Regions from separate parts of the Homo sapiens genome. Here region 2 is linked to region 1. Evidence: promoter capture Hi-C in 16 types of primary human blood cells and fetal thymus (Javierre and others, 2016). All regions are on one chromosome and are shown on one strand. The core of a region is centred on a gene start or on the middle of the fragment in contact, and the rest is flanking DNA. Distances in the headings are between cores, read along the strand shown.

The links. Contacts are between HindIII fragments. The CHiCAGO score rates a contact against its expected background, and 5 or more counts as called.
Region 2: a contact is called between a fragment that was not itself captured here and the fragment with the promoter of IDNK in region 1, in 1 of 17 cell types (fetal thymus). The highest score is 6.4, in fetal thymus.

The regions. Positions count from the first base shown.
Region 1 is chr9:83,621,139-83,624,949 of GRCh38, forward strand. It overlaps IDNK (IDNK gluconokinase), which reads left to right and starts at 2,005. Exons shown (of 5, transcript NM_001001551.4): 1 at 2,005-2,083. The coding sequence starts at 2,034. RefSeq lists a silencer at 1,700-2,229 and enhancers at 2,410-2,539, 2,560-2,609. The HindIII fragment of the contact is 10,566 bases long and covers 624-3,811 here.
Region 2 is chr9:79,564,828-79,568,885 of GRCh38, forward strand. It overlaps LNCARSR (lncRNA regulator of Akt signaling associated with HCC and RCC), which reads right to left and starts at 3,125. Exons shown (of 3, transcript NR_184113.1): 1 at 2,805-3,125. The HindIII fragment of the contact is 808 bases long and covers 1,456-2,263 here.

The sequences.
Region 1 (3,811 bases), core at 755-3,254:
GGCATGCATGGGCACCGCCGGACTCCCTAGCTCTCCACCTTCCAATTGGGTTTGGCTGGTGGGGTTTGGCCACGAGCAGGAGATCACAGGGCAAGAGGAGGGGAGGGGAGGTTATTTATTCTCCTGATTATTTTTCTGCTGGGTCAACAAGGAATGTCTATCTCTCTCTTCCTAAGGCTACAGTCCTGTCAGACACTTCTTTCTATATGGTCTATTCTCTCTGTCTCTCTCCTTCCATTCTCTTCCCTTCCCATATAAAGGCTCCCTCTCATCAGCCCCTTTCTATTTAAGAGTGAAAACACTTCTCGGTTACTCAGATGTGGACTCTGCCCCTAGTTGCTTTTTCTGACCCTACCCACACCTGTGCTAATAGTCCCTTTGTTAAATCCTGTTCACCTGCCCCAATTTGAGCATGCTGTTTCCTGCCACCACCCTGAGCAGCACAGCAAGTTTAAGATCCTTGGACATGTCTGGGGAAAGAAATCCAAGGAGAAGAATCAGATTTTCTGCTAATCATTCTGATTTGAACATTGAAAGAAATATGAGCTTTTTTTTTTCATACTGAGCTAGCGAAGCAGGGCACGAGTTAAGAGTATTTGCATACACATCTATTCCTCTTATCAAGCTTGAGAATGCCTAGAGGGTAATCTTTTAAATGAATATTAATATGATATTAACCAGCACATGGTAGATGTTCAAGAAATGTGTATTGACCATAACTGAATTGTAAGACCTCTCTCCAAGCCTCAATTTCTTCACCTGTACAGCCCCCATCCAGATTGAAATCTCACCTACTCGGGCTAAGTATATGAAAAACAAAGGCAGTGCAGGGGTAATTGAACTATTCATTAGATAAATGCTTTTATGTCACTTTTATTGTTTTCTAGGACACAGAGTAATACCTACCTTGGTTAACAAAAGACCAAAGGAGGTGATGCCAAATGCGGTTAGAAGTGCTTTTAATCACTTTGGGAGGCCGAGGCGGGTGGATCATGAGGTCAGGAGATCGAGACCATCCTGGCTAACAAGGTGAAACCCCGTCTCTACTAAAAATACAAAAAAAATTAGCCGGGCGCGGTGGCGGGCGCCTGTAGTCCCAGCTACTCGGGAGGCTGAGGCAGGAGAATGGCGTGAACCCGGGAAGCGGAGCTTGCAGTGAGCCGAGATTGCGCCACTGCAGTCCGCAGTCCCACCTGGGCGACAGAGCGAGACTCCGTCTCAAAAAAAAAAAGAAGTGCTTTTAATCAAATAGTTCAAACGACACATAATTAACATTGTTTTAAAGCAAATGGACACTTTAAAGTGGTGCTCCTTCCTCTTAAAGCCCCAACCAGTGCTGGATTTAACAGCAGAGCCATACAGCCAAGACATATGCTGCTACGGTCAACACTCAACCCTAAGTTTGACACCAAAAGATGGCCGCCATTTATTATTGTGACAAAAGGCCAGATTACAAAACGCTGTGTACGGCCTGATCCCAGTTTTACAAAATACTCATACCCATCTATCTACGACGGGGCGCGGGGAAAGGGGAGTCGTTTTAGGAAGTGCTGCTTATTGCTGCCTGGTGTGGGAAATTATGAGTCTTATTTTCTGTTTATTCTTTTTACAAGAACATTTTTATAAATGAATGAATGAATGCTTTCCATGGGTGGATGAGGATCCGGCCTGCCAGGGTGAGGATCCTCTGGAACCAAGAGGGGCCGGGGCAGTAGAACGACAGGTGGCGGGGCTTTGGGCGGCTCCCTCCAGCCCAGGGAGACGCGAGTGCCAGGCCGGGCGCGCGCTTCACTTCCGGGAAGAGGAAAGAGGGAGGGGAGGGGAGAGGAAAAGAAGGGGCAGGAGAGAGAGGCCGGGAGGTTGGGAAAGGGAGGAGGAAAGCATGGAAAAGGGGCGCGGGAAAACGGGGAGGGCGCAGAGGGGCACGGCCCTCACTGCCCCGGCCGGGGCGAGAGCGGCTCCGCCCCTCGAGCGCCGGGTAGGCCGGGGCCGGCGGGGCCCGGAAGGCGACGGGAAGGAGCCGAGCTTGGGTTATGGCGGCGCCGGGCGCGCTGCTGGTGATGGGCGTGAGCGGCTCGGGGAAGTAGGTCCGGGAGAGGGCGGGGGGCGCCCGGGACAAGTGTTGCGGGCGCGGCGGAGGCCGGACGCGTCGCCGTCCCTGCCGGTGGACTGGGGTCTTGGGGACCCCCCACCCTTCCCTTTGCAGATGAAGAAACCGAGGCCCGCGGCTGCCGCGCCCTCTCCCCGCCCTCCAGCCTGCTCGCGGGGCGCCCATCCTGGGACCGCATCCGAGCTCCGGGTTCCCGCTCTAAGACGGGGAGGCTGCGGCGACCGCAGGCTCAGGGAGGAAGCCGCTCCTGAACAGGCGGCTGCGGGGCCGCGCAGGTGGAGGCCTAGCGAGCGGCGCGGGGCTAGGTTTCGGGGCGCCTTGTCGGGGCCAGGCGGGAGGGCGCACGGCCTCTAGCGAGAGGACGCAAACCACGGCCCAGGCTCTCACAGACCTTTGGCCATCTGGACACACAGCGGCCTCCTCCTATGAGGCCCTGGACTTCTCCGATTCAATTTTGGAAAGTGAATCGTTTTCCCCTTCCTTTCATCAGCTTAACCTGGAAGGAGACAGCGTTAATATGGAGGGTGGCTCCTGAGGGTTTGGAAAGAAAGAAGAGAATTGTGGAAACCACAGAGGTAGCCCAGTGTGCTAACCTGGAGACTGAGGAGTTAACATTTGGCTTCCTGTTTAAACCAAAGTCTAACTGTGCCCTTTATCAGAAAAGACAGCTGCTGTACCATTCGACCACAGGCAGCAAAGGACAGAACTTGATCAGCTAAAACATCATAACCTTCAAGGGCCTATAGGACCCTTCTAGAATTTTCTGAATCAGGAACGGCCCATGTTGTGGCCTGTGTAGTCAGGTGTATATTAAAGATTTACTCCAGGTAGATGGGTTTTGCTTTCCAAAATTATTGTAGGGTTCTCAGCCACAAAGATAAAAAGAAATCTTGAACTGCAATTGAAATAAAACATGGAGCCCCCAAATCCCTAGCTGCCATATGATTTGAATCAGTTGGAGAATGTAAAATCATTGCCATGGTGTGATGTAACAGGAGTGAAGAGCCCTAGGTCTTGGTTCTGTTGCTGTCTGGCTGTGTGAGCCTGGGCAGTTCATGTACCCCCTCTGAGTCTTGAATCAGATGAGGGAGGCCTAATCCCTATGATGTATAGCTTGTGATATTCATGTACTCAGTAATTATTGAGCTCAATCCTTACTCTATGTCATTGTCATATAGCGAACAGGACAGATAAAATCCCTGCCCTCAAAGGATTTACATTCTGGTATGGGAGACAGAGTAAATGAATATATGTAGTGTGTGAGTTGGTGATAGATGCTCTGGAGTAAGGGGAACAAAGAGTGCCAGGCAGAGTGGTCAGGGATGTCTCCTCTGGGGGAGTGGCGTTTCAGCAAAGACCTGCAAGACTTGAGGAACCTGCCATGTGGATAGCTGAGGAAAGGGCAGGACAGGCAGAGGGAATGGCAGGTGCAATGGTTCTGAGGCTTAGCTTCTTTTGTTTTTTTTTTGTTTTGTTTTGTTTGAGGCGGAGCTTCACTCCTGTTGCCCAGGCTGGAGTGCAGTGGTGCAATCTTGGCTCAATGCAACCTCCTCCTCCCGGGTTCAAGCAATTCTCCTGCCTCAGGCTCCTAAGTAGCTGGGATTATAGGCGCCCACCACCATGCACAGCTAATTTTTTGTATTTTTAGTAGAGACGGGGTTTCATCATGTTGGCGAGGCTGGTCTCAAACTCCTGACCTCA
Region 2 (4,058 bases), core at 610-3,109, 4.1 Mb before region 1:
CAGAGCTTTGGGAGGCTGAGGTGGTTAGATGGCTTGAGCTCAGGAGTTAGAGACCAGCATGGGCAACATGGTGAAATCTCATCTCTACCAAAAATACAAAAAATTAGCCAGGTGTGGTGGCCTGCACCTGCAGTCCCAGCTATCTGGGAGGCTGAGATGGGAAAATCGCTTGAGCCAGGGAGGTGGAGGTTGCGGTGAGCTGAGATCACGCCACTGGACTCCAGCCTGAGCAAACAGAGTGAGACCCCATCTCAAAAAATAAATAAATAAAAATAATACTAGACTCTTATGAATTATTTTCTTGTACAAAGCAGTAAGATGTTTACTTACACTTTCCTACACCTACCCCATTCCCGCACCACTCATTTCAGAAAGGAAATGCGCAGATTTTCTCCTGTAATGTCTGCCCTATAGGCTGTTGTGATAGTTAGCAAGAGTGGGAGCCTGTGGAAAGGCACGGCAAGAGCAGCTGCATAGGTGTGAACCCTGCTGTTAGTTGAAAGTAAAAGGACTAGGGCTTCAGCACTGTGCATCTCTTTGGAACTTCCTTACTGAGCCTTCAGACACTCTGAGGTCGGAGGCTGAAGGGAGTGAGCCATGCTTCCTGCAGCCATGGTAATTCTCAGTTTCAGCCTTTGCACAGTGGCAGCTGCAACACAGTCATCTCCCTGATTCACCCTCTGCCCCCATTTTTGCAATAAAACATCTGCTTGAAAAGGAGTAAACCAGGCAGGTGAGTTGGATAGTGCTCAAATTACATACTTTAATTGAATACTCATTTGTGGAATTCAGGTTTATGCAAGGTATTAAATCAGGAGGTAGGAGACAAGAGTTCTGATCTCTGCTTCAGTACTTACAAGCCATATAACCTTGGGCAAGTGACTTATTTCTGAGCCTCAGTTGATTAATCTTTAAAGTGGGGATAATAATATCTTGTTTGCTTAAAGGCAGGGGAATGAAACAGAAGCAGCTGTTAAAGATCCCTTCTAGATTCTAGAAAATTAAAGACAATGTGAGCGTTCCTCAAGTAAGGGAGTCATTTTTAGTAGTGTATTTCTTAGATATGATCTCTGTTATAGAGTATAAATAAGTTCACAGCTCTTTTTAACTATTCAAGACAACTGTTCAGACTAGCAAGAAGTCAGGGTCTCCCTCAGCTCCATTGTTGACATAAGGTGTGCCTATAAAAGTGCTATGCAGCCTTATCTTCCTCACACACTCAGCTATTTATCCCGAAGCACCCCATTAATGCCAGGATGTCTAATCCAAAAGGAGATTTGTATCTTCAATAAAGAGTTATTTCCGAATGAGAAAGATCCATACTTCCTGCCTCTGTATTGCAGCTAGTGAATTTGGGTCACTGGTCCATTCTCCTGTTGACTTCAGCTGCGTTCTAGATAGCCCCTCCCACATACACCACTGTGTCTGCACCATAATCTCCGGGAGGGAAGAGAAAGCTTCAGTGCTCCTTCTTGCCTGCAGACTTAATTAGGGATAATCTCAAAGCATTCAAATAATGTAGCGTTTCAATAAGGACAGTTATTTTGTCCCAGAAGCCTCCTTAGTACCTATGCAAATTTGTCCACTGCACTCCCAAGCCAAGTTCCCTCCCCACAAAAAGGCAACGGGTACCTACATTCCTTTTATCCATCAAGATAAGAAGGGACATCCCAACACAAAGATAGCTTGGCAGTCTTCACCACTAAACATTGAGGCAGCTGGCAACAAACCTCTACCTAACCAGACAAGTTAAGAAATTTGTCACTCTCTTTAGCATTGATGTCCTGAATCTTTTTCAATAATGAGTTTTCTGTCCAGTTCTCTCTATCTTAACATAGATGGGAGGATGGTTTCTGAGCAAGTCAATTGCAGATCTAGAAATGGATGTGCATGTCCTTGATTCTCTATGATCATTGCTGTTCTAGCTATATATTCAATGCAGAGCTTGACATTCAAACTTGCATAGGCATCCTCTTTCCAAATTAAAATGGACCCATCACTCATTAGTGGGGGTGAGGTAGTGGCAGTACCAAAGGATGTGTGTGGGAAGGGCAGCATATGTGCTTCTGTACTCTTTATCAGCTGCCCCCAATTAAAAACAATTGATAATTCTTTAATATGACAAAGGGTACTTTCTTAATCTTAGGTCAAGTATGAACGTGGGCACCTTATACCAAGTTGATATTTGTAATGATCTTGTCACTCCCTGCTTACGAGCCTTTCTCCCTCCACAATGGCTATTATAATCAGAGTAGAAAATGAAAGCTTTTATTAGGCATAAGAAGTTCAATGTGACCAGAACCCAGTGATGTAGCCATGACCTAATCTTATATTACTCTGTGTCTAGCATGTACCAGTCTTTAAAAAATGCTCACATTCACCAACACTTCCTCAAATGAGGCTTTTGAATCCACCTGAAATTTGCTTCTCAGTGATTTTTGCTTTGGCTGACTCTTTCTAGGCATTCAGGCTTCTGCTTAAATGTCACCTCCTCCAAGAAGGCTTCTATGAACTCCCATCTGAACTAGTTCTACTACTCCTGTCACTCCTTCATATTATGCAACTGTTTGTCTATCTCCCCCCATCAGAATGTAAGCTCCAGCAAGAAAGACACTTTGCTTATGTTGTTTACTGTATCAATCGGGATCCGATCAAGAGAGAAAAACAGTAATTTCAACAAGGAAAGTTCAATATAAAAAATTATTACCTATAACAGGGAATTGGATCAAAGGGAGATTGGTAAGAGGTAAAGAGAGCTCTAAATAATACAGAAATAGAGATATAAGGAACAGCTACTTACTAACCCTAGGGCTGAGATACAGCATCTCAAAAAGAGCTCCTCCAAGACACAGACACACTCTTAGGGCTGGCTGAGATCCAGACTTTGCTGGAGAGGGCACAGTTGTAACTTTCTGAATAGCAGGAGAGCCCTGCTAGAATTCTGCCTTCTGGAACTTGCTAGAAATCCACATTCCAGAACTCGTTGGAAATCCATTCTCTGGGGTTCCAAGGAAAGCTGCTGAGGGAGGTGACTCATTAGAGGCACTTGCTCCAAAGCCACCTAAGGGGCTTCTGGAGGAAGCTGCTGGCTGCTGGGTGCTGCTGCTTGCTACCTGTGCTGTAGGAACCTGCCCAGTATGCAACCAGAGCCAGGAACCAGGAAACCAAACCCTTTCCTCCTGCAATGTCTCTCCAGCGCCTTCTATTGACCTAGCTTTTTTAACAGCTGGAAAATATTTAAAGGGCTCAGATTCAGTTTCACTAGGCAGGCAATGAGGATGAATTTGGAGCTAAGAGGCAACATATTAATAATAGCCACTTTTATTGTGAAATCCCCATATTCTGGCACATAGTAGGTTTAATAAATATTTGGTGAAGTAATAAATAAATGATTTACATCTAACCAAAGTGAAAAGCATGCTTGGCATATGTCACTTCAAGATTGGAGCTTTCAGGCCTAGCTTTTAACATGAAAGTTGCTGCCAAGTGCCTCCCACATGAAAACTCTGGAACACCCCACCTACCCCCCACTCTGTGGTAGGGATAAGACAGGCCTCCAGATAACATCATAGCTTGGCTCAACAGTTAGCGAGAAGTGCAATGAGAGAAGCACAGCAGAGAAAAGGAGAAAAAGTGGCCATGAGCCCCACTTACAGTCTGTGTTACGGCTAGGGCTGGGCCGCCAGTTGCTGCATTTGCATCTTTCTGAGACATTGAGGTGAGTTACATAGCTCTGCCACGTGGCCAAAATGTGAAACACATCCAAGGGCTATATTTTAATACAGAACTTAAAAAATAAAGAAACATCTTGACTTCTCTAGCCACTTTCCTGTTGACACAAACCATCGAGAGAGATTAGGGGAAAGATCCTTGCTATAAGTGATCTGATATTTCCTAACAGAGCAAAGTTTCCTCTTTGTCCACTGACCCTTTCAATAGTTCTTCGGGTTCTATTCTTAGAATTCTCGTTTCCTGTCCTGAGAGAAAACTGCACAGAATTTCAATAAATATGACCCAAATGATGTGGAAACTTCCTATAAGGATGCAATGAGGTATTC